2 separate regions of the Homo sapiens genome follow, and region 1 is linked to region 2. The links are contacts of gene promoters, found by promoter capture Hi-C in human tissues and cell types (Jung and others, 2019). All regions are on one chromosome and are shown on one strand. Each heading gives the region's core, a stretch centred on a gene start or on the middle of the fragment in contact. The rest is flanking DNA. Distances are from core to core; before and after follow the strand shown. Region 1 has its middle 20 kb from the start of CAVIN3. Region 2 holds the start of TRIM3 (tripartite motif containing 3).

Region 1 (6,431 bases), core at 1,353-3,852, 170 kb after region 2:
GAGTCTTGAATATTTTGTTCAACTCTAATGGGTTAAAGAAAAGCCAAACAAATCACTATTCTCATGGTATGGATGGCAGCTGAGTTGTATATAGGAACTCTCCCAGTGTACATTTCAAACATTACAGTAATTCAAAGCTTATTGCAGACATGTTATCAAAGTTAACAAGAACTATTAGAAAGAATAGAGGTAGGCCGGACATGGTGGCTCACGCCTGTAAACCCAGTATTTTGGGAGGCTGAGGTGGGCGGATCACCTGAGGTCAGGGGTTCGAGACCAGTCTGGCCTACATGGTGAAACCACATCTCTACTAAAAATACAAAAATTAGCTGGGCAAGTTGGTGGGCACCTGTAATCCCAGCTACTTGGGAGGCTGAGGCAGAAGAGCCACTTGAACCTGGGAGGCAGATGTTACAGTGAGCCGAGATTGTGCCACTGCACTCCAGCCTGGGTGACAGAGCAAGACTCCATCTCAAAAAAGAAAAAGAAAAAAAAATAGAGTTAAACACAGGACAAAGAAAGCATTTTTCTGGTCAGGTAATGGGCATCAACATGTCCTGTGGACTTCGATTATCTGAGGTTGGGGGTTGGGGATTGAGGTGGCTAACACGATCTACAGTGGGAAGCTCTTGGGCATATGGGCAAAACCTTAGACAGCTACCTCATGGACTCTTTAATCTTCCCTGAAGTTTACAGAAGCTAAGGCTTTTCTGGAAAATAAGGGGAGACTCCTCATATCTTTTAATATGGCTCTGAGCCAGCATTATGTGGGTCCTGGGCCAGCTCTCAAAACAACAGCCCTGAGCAGATAAGGAAAATAAAACACAAGACACTGACCACTTTCAGTATGTTATGCTTCCATTCATCCTTATGGCCCTATATAAGCTTTAATTTTTACCAGAAAGAGAGCTGCCTCTATCACCCCTCTAATGGAGCCTCCTCTCCATCCAAATACTGTGCTATTTGGCCTGCAGTTGAGGGGTTATCTAGCAGGCCGCGCCTTCCAGGGAGGGAAGGGTCTGTCAGGAGCTACTTCCTAGATGGCTTCGCAGTGATCAAAGGAACCAGGGCTGCCTTTGAGTTCAGTGATTGTTGCCCTCCATCCCCCTATGGCTGTAAGAGACTACAACCCTGGAAAACAATCACCTTTGAACAACATTGGAATGGAACTCGGATCAGATCTTGCCATGTGGACAGCCTCGGGTTTTTGGTATATTGCTCATTGCTCATTTGGGTGGCACAGTTACAAAAAAGGACAAAAATGATCAGGAAGCGACAACCCCGAATTTGGGTCTTTTCCGTGTGTACAACTTAACTATTGCCTCTGGAACGACAAGAGGCAGCATATGGATTTTTGCTTTTGTGGGGATGGTTTTACAAGTAATTCCAGTAGGTTACTCTGCTACGGTGCTTGACAGCAGCACCCTGGAGGGCCATACCCCTTCCTCCTTGCTTCCCTGAATATTTGAGATGTGCACAGCCTGCCGAGCAGGTGTGTAAGACTCATTCTCAGGCGGTACTTGTCAGCAGAGGGCTTTTTAGACCCATCAGGAGGATATCTTGCAGGGGCTCTTAGTGGTATTGTGTTTCCAAAAAGAAGGGTGATGGAGTGGGGGTACATCTGTTGAGCCAACAGTTATAATTAGTCATGGTAGATTTTAAAAAGAGCTGTGTATTTAGAATTCACATTTATGATGTGGTCTCTCTTGTTCTGGCAAGATACATTCTGAATTATGTAAAGGATTCTGAGATTCTGGATGTGCTGAATGTGGAAAAGCATTGTTCAATTACATTCTTATCATGGGCCCTGTTCATTACACATCCACAATCACCATGTCCACAGTGTCCGTGGAAATTGGGTTTTCACATAATTTTCCACAGCTGTTTTCTAATTTGATACCCTTAAATGACACTGTAACTCCCTGTATGATGACTGCCAGAACCTAAAGCCCCCAGGCAATTTTCTAAAGAAACATTGATAATAAATATTGGGGTGGTAGCCCGATAAATAGCATCTCTGTTCCCTAATAAAGTTGGAATAGAAGTATGTGGCAACAGTAGACTTCCCAATCCTGAACTCCTCTGGTATCAGAGAGATTTGCCAAGTTATAGTCTGACCTGAAAAACCAGAGTCAAGCAGCCATCAGCACTACCGCTCTGTAGATAGGAAGATTCCCAGAGGGAGAGAAAGAGGGCAGGAGGACAGGGCTGGGCCACACACACCCAGTTCCCCTTTCAAGTCAGGCAATTCACTTGAGAGGCATAAGACCTAGGGTCAGAGGGTTTAGGGAAAAATCCTTCTCATGAAAGCAATAGGTACTGCAAAGGAGCCTTCCTCTACTAACACTATTTTCTCAATTTTCCAGAAATTTCTTTTCCCCAGCTCAAAATAGCTTTGTCCTAAATTAGATGATCCAGAAACAAAGGACTGAGTCATGATAGGCTGTATATCAAACTGTTAACAATGACACACTTGTGTAAAACTTTTTAATTTGTTTTGTTCTTTTTTTTTTTTTTTTTTCAGAGACGGATTCTCACTCTGTCGCCTAGGCTGGAGTGCAGTGGCCGATCTCGGCTCACTGAAACCTCCGCCTCCCGGGTTCAAGCGATTCTGGTGCCTCAGCCTCCTGAGTAGCTGGGATTACAGGCCAGTGCCACCATGCCTGGCTAACTTTTTTGTATTTTTAGTAGAGATGGGGTTTTGCCATGTTGGCCAGGATGTTCTCGAACTCCTGACCTCAGGTGATCCGCCTGTCTCAGCCTCCCAAAGTGCTGGGATTACAGGCATGAGCCAACTCGCCTGGCTTGTTTTGTTCTTTTTACTTACTTTGGCTCATCTGTCACAGAAGTCCTCTGCTAAACAAAGATGTTTGTGGATGTTTCTTCCCTGAGCAATAATTAAACAAAGTTTTTCAAATTGTCAAAATCATTCTAGCATTCTGGGGGATGCCCTTAACCTTGATGATGGACTTTCCAGCTACTAACTTGGGGCTTTATGACTCAGAAACTTGACATGTTCCCAAGGTAACATTAACTTCTGGGTTTGTTTATTAACCGTCCTAAGAAAAGGTCTCACTCTCTGCTGTTAGGAATACATGTTTTGATAATGACGGTGGTCCTACACACACTCAAGCAAGCCATAAATACCCAGGAGGGCATATACTGTGGTGAAAGATGAAGGCCTTTTTTCTGAACTGGACAAGTATCCTCAGCATTTTTCCAGCAAGCCATTATCATTACCGTCATCTATGCATTGACAATAGGATATATTAGCCATCGCTAAAGTGGGGTGCACAATCTCAGGGGCTACTCAGGACAGCCTTTTGAAATTTCCATTTTGATGATGAGATACCTGGTACAACTTCTCAGCACATTACAATGTCTGCCAAAATAGTGTCAGGACACCTCAGTCAATAGAACAGAAAAAACACCAAGTGCTTCTGAACAGGGATGTCATCATAAAGCTTCTAGAAAGTTTCTGCGCTAGGTTGCTGGGAAAGTCGCCAGACTGGGCTGCCTCAAAAGTCTCTGATACTTTGCCTTAAAGTCTCTAGGCCCTCTGTGGCTAAAACAAAGACGGGGACAAGCCATTAAAGGATAATTTAGTTCTAAGTAGCCATTAAAAGATAATTTTCATAAACAGGTAAGATCAGTACTCTTATACAGATATAAGAATAAACATGAGTTAAAGTTTTTATTTAACTAATTCATGAGGAAAGCAGTGAAGTATTACAACCAGGTGAAAGGAGAATCCCAAGGACAGACACATTTATAGATCCGGAATATTAAAATGACTGTGCAAATACAGCCAGATGGGGTTTTTTTTGTTGTTGTTGTTGTTTTACCGGACAGCATTCATTTGCATATCTATAGACAAGAATGATTTAGCATTGCTGCCAGTTATCTACACTTTATAGAGCTGCAAAACAGCTCCCACAGAATTGGAATCAGACAAGTCAGGTGTGCTCTGGAATGACAACACGTAATTTTCAAATTAAGCACAATTTTTTCCTTATAGTCCCCCCACTTTTTATTACAAAGAACCTCAAAGATTCTTGATGACAAAATGAGTATGGTCTTATTAGATTCGGCCTGGTTCTTTAAACAGGTGCAGCAAGACTGTTAACCATATGGGCCTTCTTTAAGTTTTTTCCGCTAGAGGTTCTCTAAGAAATCTCAGCTTGATCTTTTACAAGCTTCTATTCATTTGCTGTCTTGAAGCTAAGATGGTAAGTCCAAGGAAATTTCTCCATAAGATTTCATCTGTAGTATCTATACATTTTGGCCTAATTCCTTTCTTCTTGAATCTTCCTTCCTTCCTTCCTTTGCCATGTTGGCCAGGCTCGTCTCGAACTCCTGACCTCAGGTGATCCACTCGTTTCAGCCACCCAAAGTACTGGAATTATAGGCATGAGCCACCGTGACCAGCCTCTTCTTGAATTTTTCAAAACCTCTCAAGGCTCTTGGCCTGCCACGAAAGTGACCTCCCTTACCACCTCCAAGGCTGGATCCTGGATAAATCCAGGTACCAGGACGGTTTTCCTTGGACAGATTTGCCAGCACTGGCTCCATCAAATCAACCTTAGTTTCCTAAAAGGGGCTGATCATGCACAGGCTATGGCTTCCCTGGGCTGGCAGGAAGCTCCTCTGCAGCTGCTGTTCACAGAGCTGCAGCCTGGTGGCCACTGATGCCAAAGACTGGGTACTTGGAGCCACTGGTGCGCTGGTCAGCAGAGGGCGTGCTCCCTGCCACCTGGGCGGAGAGGACTGGGGAGGATGAAGTAGGGTGAGGTTGGTGGGCTTACTACCTTAATGCTAACTCTCACAGCTGTTTGGAGATGAGCCCACCACCACCTGCCCCTGCTTGTCTCAAATCTTTTCTAAAAAGGACAAAAGAGGCTCACCAGTTGTTCCTCGTGTTCCTGGTTACAAATTATTTGGCAAAGTTTATCCCAGAGATTATCTTTAGAAAACTTTCAAAAATAATTTAGCAAAAGTATGAAGCACAAACAGAAGGACCTGTCAACCACCATGTCAGGCTTCAAGACATAAGAATTTCGAATCTGAACCATTTTTACCTGTACTCTGATTTCCAGGTATGAGCCATCATATGATTGATTACTGCTTTTATGTTCTGCTTAAGAAATCTTTGCCCACTCCAAGGAAATCTTGTCAAATCATTAGAAGAAGCTTTAGGTCACCAACAAGAATGTGGGACTGTGAATCAGTCTCAAAATCAAGAAATTAAAGCAGTCAAAAAAAAGAAAGAGAGAGAAGGAAAGAAAGAAAAAAAGAAAGAAGGAAAGACAGAAAAAAGAAAGAAGGAAAGAAAGAAAACAGTAATTTAAACAGGAAGAAAATATTGCCAGTTGCAGTGGTTATTTGGACCAGTGAAAAATAAGGCATAGTAGGAGAAAAGGTAAATTATGTTCAGGGGTTGCCCCCTAGTGTTCCTGGGCAAATTTGTAGTCTCACTGTAGGAAATGAATGGATTATCATTCCTGACCTTTATGAACTAGTCCTCTCAAGAGGAAAGGAGTGGTGAAAAAACTTTGGTGAAACAAGTTCTCTCTGAACACATCATTCTCTCTGATAGAGAAGGTGTACCTGTTGGCGATCCTGGTGCTGGTCTGGAATTAAGCTGGACAGATCCTATGCATTGCCATCTCTCTACCTACATCTTTTAGAAGAGTGGCCATTTCATGATGTTTTACATAGTATGGTAGCAGCATATTTATGTTACAGTCCTGATGTTAGTTATGTCCAAGGATGCATGTCATTGTGGTAATGCTCATTCTCAATTTGGAAGAGACCAATGCCTTCACTGCATTTGCAAAGATCTCATAAATAAGTCACGCCAGTTGGTCTTCTGTGTGGATCACAGCAAGGTGTTAAGATATTTTGCAACGTTTGAAGTATTCTCTGAAGACAATTTCTTCAGATTGTTTCTTCAAGTCTTATGGCCTTACACCAGGCACATGCTTAATAGATAGGATCTTCACACTGTATCATAAATCACTACTCTACTTGATCTGTTCTATCCAGTCTGAGATGTTTTACAGAGACAGGAAGAAATTTTTATTTAGAACTGGACTAGGAACCCTTCATCTGTATGAAGATAGTTTCCTACAGATGGACTTGATTCATATTGCACCTTGTCTAACTAAACGGGCAGAGGCTATCATATCAGAAAAGCTGTTTAGCTGTATTGCAGTCACCTGGACACAGAAGAGTACCAAGAAATGGCCCTAGGTCTTTGTGTCTGTAATGAAGCATATTAAAGAAGGAGATAAGGATATTTTTAAAATGTAGCATATTTAAAGTATTAGAAGTTCAAATCCATTATTTTCTGGGAATTTTAAGAATATTCTTTTTATATAAGTGCTTATTTATCTCTATCAGCCAATCAGAAAAGAGCCTCTTTAAAAAGA
Region 2 (6,885 bases), core at 1,416-3,915:
TACCCTCACCCACCCACCCAGTTTAATTGTGCTTAGAGCCCAAGAAGATTGGGATCTAGCACTAGGAATAAACCTTTCATAAAAGCAGGCCCAGCGAGGTCAATTTGTCGGGGACTCTAGGAGGGTGGCCTGGGTGGAGACAAGCTCAGTCTAATCAAACACCAGAACCCTATCAAGTCAAAAGAGCTGGGGCCAGGCAGCTGAAGTCACAGGTTTCAGAGATGGTTTGAAGGCCCAGTCTTCTCTCCCAGCCTCAGTTGGAGCCAAAGCTTTGTCCTTTAGCCAGCACCAAGATAGCTATGGATCTTAAGAGCACCAGATCCAGAGGGGGTTGGGTTTGCTGACCTTCATCATGCATTCATTCATACAGCAAATATTTACTGAGTGCTTTCATTTGCCAGGGACTGCGTTAGGCCCTGGGGAAACATCAGTGAATAAAACACGGTCCCTGCCCACAGTGCTTAGGGCCTACTGAGGGAAAGAAGTAACCAGGCAACTACAAAACAGTGATAAGTATTAGGATACAGAAGTACAGAGGGCGCTGTGGGAGCACAAAGGAGGGGCATCTGGCATGGACTGGGGTGGAAATGGGGATGTCAGTTTGAAAGCTGAGACCTGGCCAGGTGCGGTGGCTCACTCCTGTAATCCCAGCACTTTGGGAGGCCGAGGCGGGCGGATCACCAGGTCAGGAGATCAAGACCATCCTGGCTAACACGGTGAAAACCCATCTCTACTAAAAATGCAAGAAAATTAGCCCGGCACGGTGGCTGGCGCCTGTAGTCCTGTAGTCCCAGCTACTCGGGAGGCTGAGGCAGGAGAATGGTGTGAACCCGGGAGGCGGAGCTTGCAGTGGAGCCAAGATTGCGCCACTGCACTCCAGCCTGGGCAACAGAGCGGGACTCCATCTCAAAAAAAAAAAAAAAAAAGCTGAGACCTGAAGGGTGAGTAGATGACAAACAGGCAGGGTAAAGGGAAGAGCATCCCAGGCAGAGAGGCTAGCATATAATGAAGGCTCTGAGTAGGAACTGGGAGGAATTGCTTGGAATGAAAAATGAAGAGGGAGTGGCTAGATGAAGACTGCAGGCTGGTTAAGGACTTTTGCCCTCTGGAGAAGGAGCTGAGAAGTGTTTTAAGCAGAAATTTGACTGCATGGGAGAAGTATAGAGTTGAGAAAAGTAGTCCTCTGAGGCTTAAGATAGTGTCATCTAGACTCCAGTTCCCTCATCTTGGGTAGCATAGTAGCCCCAGCCCAAAACTGCAAGCATGATCCCCGTCTGGGTTTCCTTCACAAGCACTGGAGCATCTTGTGCTATGTGCTGAACTCAGGTGGATAAGAGGTTGAGGCGGTTCCCAAAGCTCCTGCTGCACCCAGGTGTTGAGCCTAAATCTGAACCTTGTGGAGAGGTCACAAGAAAGATCCCTAACAGCACTTTGGTTTAGTCAGGGCTAGGTGTCATCACCTGTATGCCCTTTGGCCAAGGAAACCAGAATTTTTCAGGATTTTCCCCACCTCTGGAAGGCTGGAGGAAGGGGAAGACCCACTCAGCAGATTCCCATAGTGCAGGGATCCTCACAGGCATGACTTTGCCCTTTGTCATGGATACTGCAGCTCCCAGACAGTCTTCTGGGCTTTGATCAGCCTGCAATCATCTGACTAGAGCTTGATTTTTGGGGCAGGGAAGGTGGTCCTTATATGAGCTGCCACTTAATGGGCCACTGGGGATTTTTCAACATGAAAGGTACCGAGTCTCCAAATGCTGGTTGTAGGGCCTAAAAACAGGGCTCAACTCCAGGTTCTGCCACTTTCTAGCTGAGTGATGAGGGCTAACGTCTGGGGAGCAAGATCCCTATTTTTTCCCATTGTAAAATTGGGCTAATAAAAGATGCTACCTACTGACTATTAAATAATATATGTAAAGTGGCTAGTTCTGTGTCGGCACATAATAACCACTCAGTCCCTGTAAACTGTTACAATTATTTTCCACTTGGGGCTGCTTTTTGCACAAGGCGATGATTCTGAGAATTGTCCAGTGTCTTTGGTGTGAGGAAGGGAGTCGCTGGATGGTCTGAACCAGAATTTCCTCAGGAGGGGGCTCCTGAAGCGCCCAAAGCCTAATCAAATCCCCCACCTTTCTACCCCTTAACTCCTTCTCCCAGAGTTCTGGGTACTGCCCTTCTGCCGCCCAGAGATCGTGCTGAGGTACAGACGGTTTCTACGTCTTCCTGGTCAGCCGATAGACTAGCATATTCCATAGGAGCACTCCAAGGAAGCCGGAAAGGGCGCCTCCAGGAGGCAGGCGGCCCAGACAGGCTCCCAGAGTCCGAAATCCCTGCTGCCCCAGCTGCCTTTTCTTGACGGAGTCTCATCTCAATCCCTGAGACCGACTACACCGCCCTTCCCGGAGCCGGAGGCAGCTGGCGGAGATCCGGGATCCGAGATCCGGGATCCGGCTCGCCGGCCCGCCGGCTCCCTAGCAGCACCAAGGAGGCAGCGTCCGCAGGAGGTGGAGGCGTTGGCGGGGGGGCGTGCGGGTGCGGTAGGGGTGGGCAGGCGGGGTGGGCGGGGCCTCCGCGGCGGCGGGCGGGGCGTGGGTGGGTCTTCCCTACTGGAGTCACCCCCTCCCCCGGCCGGTCCGCAGCCCCGCCCCGGCCCCTCCCTCCGGCCTGTGCGGCTAGTCCGGCGGCGGCGCCGGCGCGGGGACAGGCGGAGGCGCGGGCAGGGCCGGGCGGACGGGCGCTGGCAGCAGTAGCAGCGCCGCGGGCCCTTCAGAGTGGCCGCAGTCCGAGCTTTGCCCTCGCATCCTGTTCCAACGCGGTGAGTGCGACGGGCGGGCCCCAAGGGTGCGTTTGTATTCCTGTCAGCCCGGGTCTGGGTCGGAGCGTCTGTGGGTGGGGGCACAGATGATTTTCAAAAGCTGTGCCTCTCTCTGCCCACGTGAGGCGTGTCCATGTCCGTGAGAGCAGCAGGGGGATTCTTCGGGCTGTGGCTGCTCACGTGAGGTCCCTGTTTTGAGGCGGGGAGGCGCGGGTGGATGGGTGATGGTTCCTTAGGGGAGCGCGGGGTTTGGGAGCTTGTGTGTGTTGGCGGAGGGTGCTGAACGCTGCGGCCGAGGGTGGTGGTGGTGGTGCGTGCTGAGTGGGACTCTGGAATATTGTGGCCCATCTTGTCTGAAGGGCTCTTTTCTCCCTGGTGCAGACACCTCCACCCCTTGCTCCCCCACCCCCACCCTACCCCACCCCCCGCCCCTTCCATCCTCTGGTACCCACAGGCCCACCAGTCAGGATGGAGGACACCCTTTCCTCCCCATGCACTGCTCTGTGGACAGAAAGCCTCATGTGGAGGCTGTTTTTTTGTAGGAAAGGACCCCTCTGGTTCTCCTGTAGCCTGAGCCCTGCCTGGAGGACCCCAGGCCCCTCCCTGGTTCTGACCTCCTCCCTTCTGCAATTGGCTTCAGATCCTGGGCTGCAAACCTGCAGGGACAGATGGTTGCAGGTTGGAGGGGCAGGCTGCACCCCAGGGAGGTCAGTTCGACTGAGGGCAGGCCCTGGGCTTGTTCTTGGTGTGGGGGTTCTCTGATGTGGACAACAGAAACTCAGGACTGGCCCTAGCAGGAAGATCACATCTGGGAGGTCACAGCAGGTGCAGAAAACATCACAGGTCTCCCTTGGCCAGTCTGTCTAGCTCACTGGTGCCCATTCATCCCCTAAGCAGGGGATGATTTGCTGCAGAATTGGAATCAGAGCTGCAGGCCTGACAGTAGCCCTGCCTCCTTGGGCTTGTATGCCTCCAGTGACAGAGCACTTGCTACTTTCTGCTGTGGAAAAGCTTCCTTATATTAAGCAGAGGTCTCTCTTCTTGGGACTTTATTCACTTGTCTTGTTACTGCCATTACTTTTGCATCTCTCTCTGATGAAAGGGAACTGCAGAGATTTAAACAGAGCTCTCCTGTAACCAACATATACTGAGTACTTCCTGTGTGCCAGGTACTGCCACAGCCACTTAGGAGACAATGGCATTCTTGCCGAGAGAACTTGAGCAAAGAGTCCATCGTTGGGATAGTATAGCCCAGGTTCAGAAAAGCAGAAAAACCATATGGTTAGAATAGAGAGCGTTCATAGAGTGTCACAGGTGACTTAAAACTCAGCAAACATTTATTTACGGGGGCGAGGGGGCAGGGGGAGTGTGGAGGGGAGGCAACTAAGACCATCCTCTAACACATTTAGCCTAACAGTGGAAACTAGAAGTCAAATCATCGAGGTAGTACAAGATGGGATTTAATCATGGGCTCATGGTACAATCTGTGGAAGCCCTTGGCTTGAGAGGGAACCTTGGGAATCTCAGATTTTGAGAAAACATCCCTCTTCTCCCAATTTACAAATAAGGGAATGGGGTTGGAACTTACCTAGAGTTTCACCTTGTGTTAGTGGAGTTAGTTACAGCATTAGGACTAGATCCTAGATCTCCTAACTTTTTAAACCTAGCCAAATTTCAGAGGCAGAATTGAGGATGTAGTCATAGCTTGTATCTGAAAGGTGAAAGAAAAGGTGTAATTGAGAAGACTACCAGGGTTCTCGCTTGTGTGGGTGGGTGAGTGGTGGTGCCTTTTATTTATTTATTTATTTAGATTTATTTATTTTTAGCATATTTATTTTTATGCTTTTAGGATGTAAAAGCATCATGTATAACCTCTGCCTTTTGGAGATTTGCAATCTTGTCCATCTGTTCCATATTTCTTAGTTTCTCATGTTTCTGTTTCTTTACTCACTGTTTTCCCAATGTACGTATCAATGTCCTATTTGTCTCTCAAGACCCAGCTCAAATACCCCTTCCTCTGGAAGCCTTCTTTATTCTGTACCATCCTCAGAGTTAGGTACTTCCTCCAGTTTGCTGCTGTAGCAATTTGAACATGTCAATATCATGGTACTTATCACATTGTAGTTACGTGTTTCCATTTCTGTTTCTCACATTAGTCTAAAAACTTGTGAAAGACAGGGAGTGTGTCTGATTCAGCTTTGTGTCTCTATTTCACAGCTGAAGGACCTGGCCCACAGTGTGCCCAGAGAAGTTTGATTGAATGGTTCATTCACTTTACTCAGTCTGGCAATGTTGGGGGAGATGGCCATGAATTTCATTGCTTTCCTTCCCTGCTAATCTTATTTAAAGGATTCATTGGCTTTAAGGACTTTGCCTCATCCAAGGCTTCATTTGTTTCAGAGAAAGCCCAAAGACTGTAACCTGCAGTCATTTGTCATTTTTTTGAGGTCTCAAATGATCAGATAAACCTGGAAGCTAGTGAGTAGACGTGAGTTATTTTAGCAAGCAAATGAGCCTAGCTGACCTCTCGCATCCATTTTCAACAATGCCTTGGTTACCTCCATTCACAACTGTGTAACTCATGTGTACTGGGAATCCTGTGAGATTGTAGGAGGAAGTCCTGGGGAAAATTAATGCTATTTGAGAATTTGGAGAAACTGAAAAGCCTTGAAACACATCCTTTGCAGATGTCCAGGATCTAGTGGAGTCAGCACTGGCTGTCTTCATTTGTTCACAATCAGCTTCTTGCTTGACTCCCTGCATCTGGCTTCCTGTCCTCCATCCCCTGAAAACCACATGCTCTGAGGTTAATGAAAGCCTCTTTGGGGCTTAAATAATGGGACCTCTGCAGCATTTCACTCCCTTGTTCATGAAGTTCTCTTCTCCCTTGGCATTCATGACATCTGTTTCCTGATTCTCTTGCTTCTCTGGTTGTGCCTTCTCAATCTTCTTTGCAGACTCTGCTTCCTGGGCCTATCTCTTAAATATTGAGGTTCCTTGGGACTTGGTGATAGACCCTCCTTTCTCTCTTTACCCTCTCAGGGTAATGTCATCCACGCCCATGGCTTCAGGAACCATCTCTGCACCAACATCCACATTCATGTCTCCAGGCCAGACCTCTCTCTTAGGCTTCAGCGTATCTTTCCAACTGCCAACTGGACCTCTCCACTTGAATTACATCCCATAGGCACCTCAGATTCATCACATTAAACAGTGAACTCTAGCTGGGTGCTGTGGCTCATGCCTGCAACCCCCACGCTTTGGCAGGCCAAGGCAGGAGGATTAGTTGAGCCCAGGAGTTTGAGGCTACAGTGAGCTATGATCATAACACCACATTCCAGCCTGGACAACAGAGTAAGACCCTGTCTCTTAAAAAACAAAAACAAAACTGAAAAAACCTTAAAAGATAAACACCAAACTTATCACCCTCTCATCCAAACTGCTCTTCTTTGAGAGTTTCCAAAGAATCATCTGTTAATTCCTTCTTCTCCCCTAACTCTTCACATGTAAATACCCAGCCACCAAGTTCAGTTGATATCCCCCTGCAAAATTGATTTATCTTGGCCTGTCTTTGCTATTCTCCTAATCAAGGCAGTTTCTTAATTTTCCGTCCTTGCCCTTTAAACTATTTTCCACATAGCAGCCAAAAATGTACTTTTGTCACTCTATACTTAATAGCCCTCACCACTACCAAAGTTTTCCTTTGCTTTTTGGATAAATCCTTCATCCCCTAGCAGGTAAGCGTAAAGTCTAAACTCCTTAATAAGACCAACAAGGCATTGCATGATATATCTTTTGCCTACCTCTCCATCTTGTTTCTTAGCCCTCCCATCACAGTGTCTGATTCAGCCTCCTGATGCAAAAGGCACCATACTCTCTGTAACTCATCCTCAGCTTGAACGTTACTTTCTTTAGGAGTTACTAAAGTTACTTTCTTTAGGAGAAAGGTTGGCCTCCAACCTCTGGACCCACCCCTGCTCCAGATCTAGGTTAGGTAACCTTTGTACTCCTGGAGCAATTGGTGCTTCCTCATCATGGTCTTCACCACTTTACATTGCAGTAATCTATTT

What was found. Contacts are between HindIII fragments. The study calls those that stand out against the background at their distance.
Region 1: a fragment that was not itself captured here is called in contact with the fragment with the promoter of TRIM3 in region 2 in 1 of the 25 tissues and cell types used here (neural progenitor cells).

The regions. Positions count from the first base shown.
Region 1 is chr11:6,297,053-6,303,483 of GRCh38, reverse strand. No RefSeq gene overlaps it. Among named protein-coding and RNA genes, the nearest start is that of CAVIN3, 20 kb to the left of the region's middle. The HindIII fragment of the contact is 4,182 bases long and covers 512-4,693 here.
Region 2 is chr11:6,469,721-6,476,605 of GRCh38, reverse strand. It overlaps TRIM3 (tripartite motif containing 3), which reads left to right and starts at 2,665. Exons shown (of 12, transcript NM_033278.4): 1 at 2,665-2,815. ARFIP2 (ARF interacting protein 2) reads left to right here. Exons shown (of 8, transcript NM_001376558.2): 8 at 1-87. RefSeq lists a silencer at 2,539-2,768 and enhancers at 2,126-3,064, 3,065-4,004. The HindIII fragment of the contact is 11,464 bases long and covers 1-6,885 here.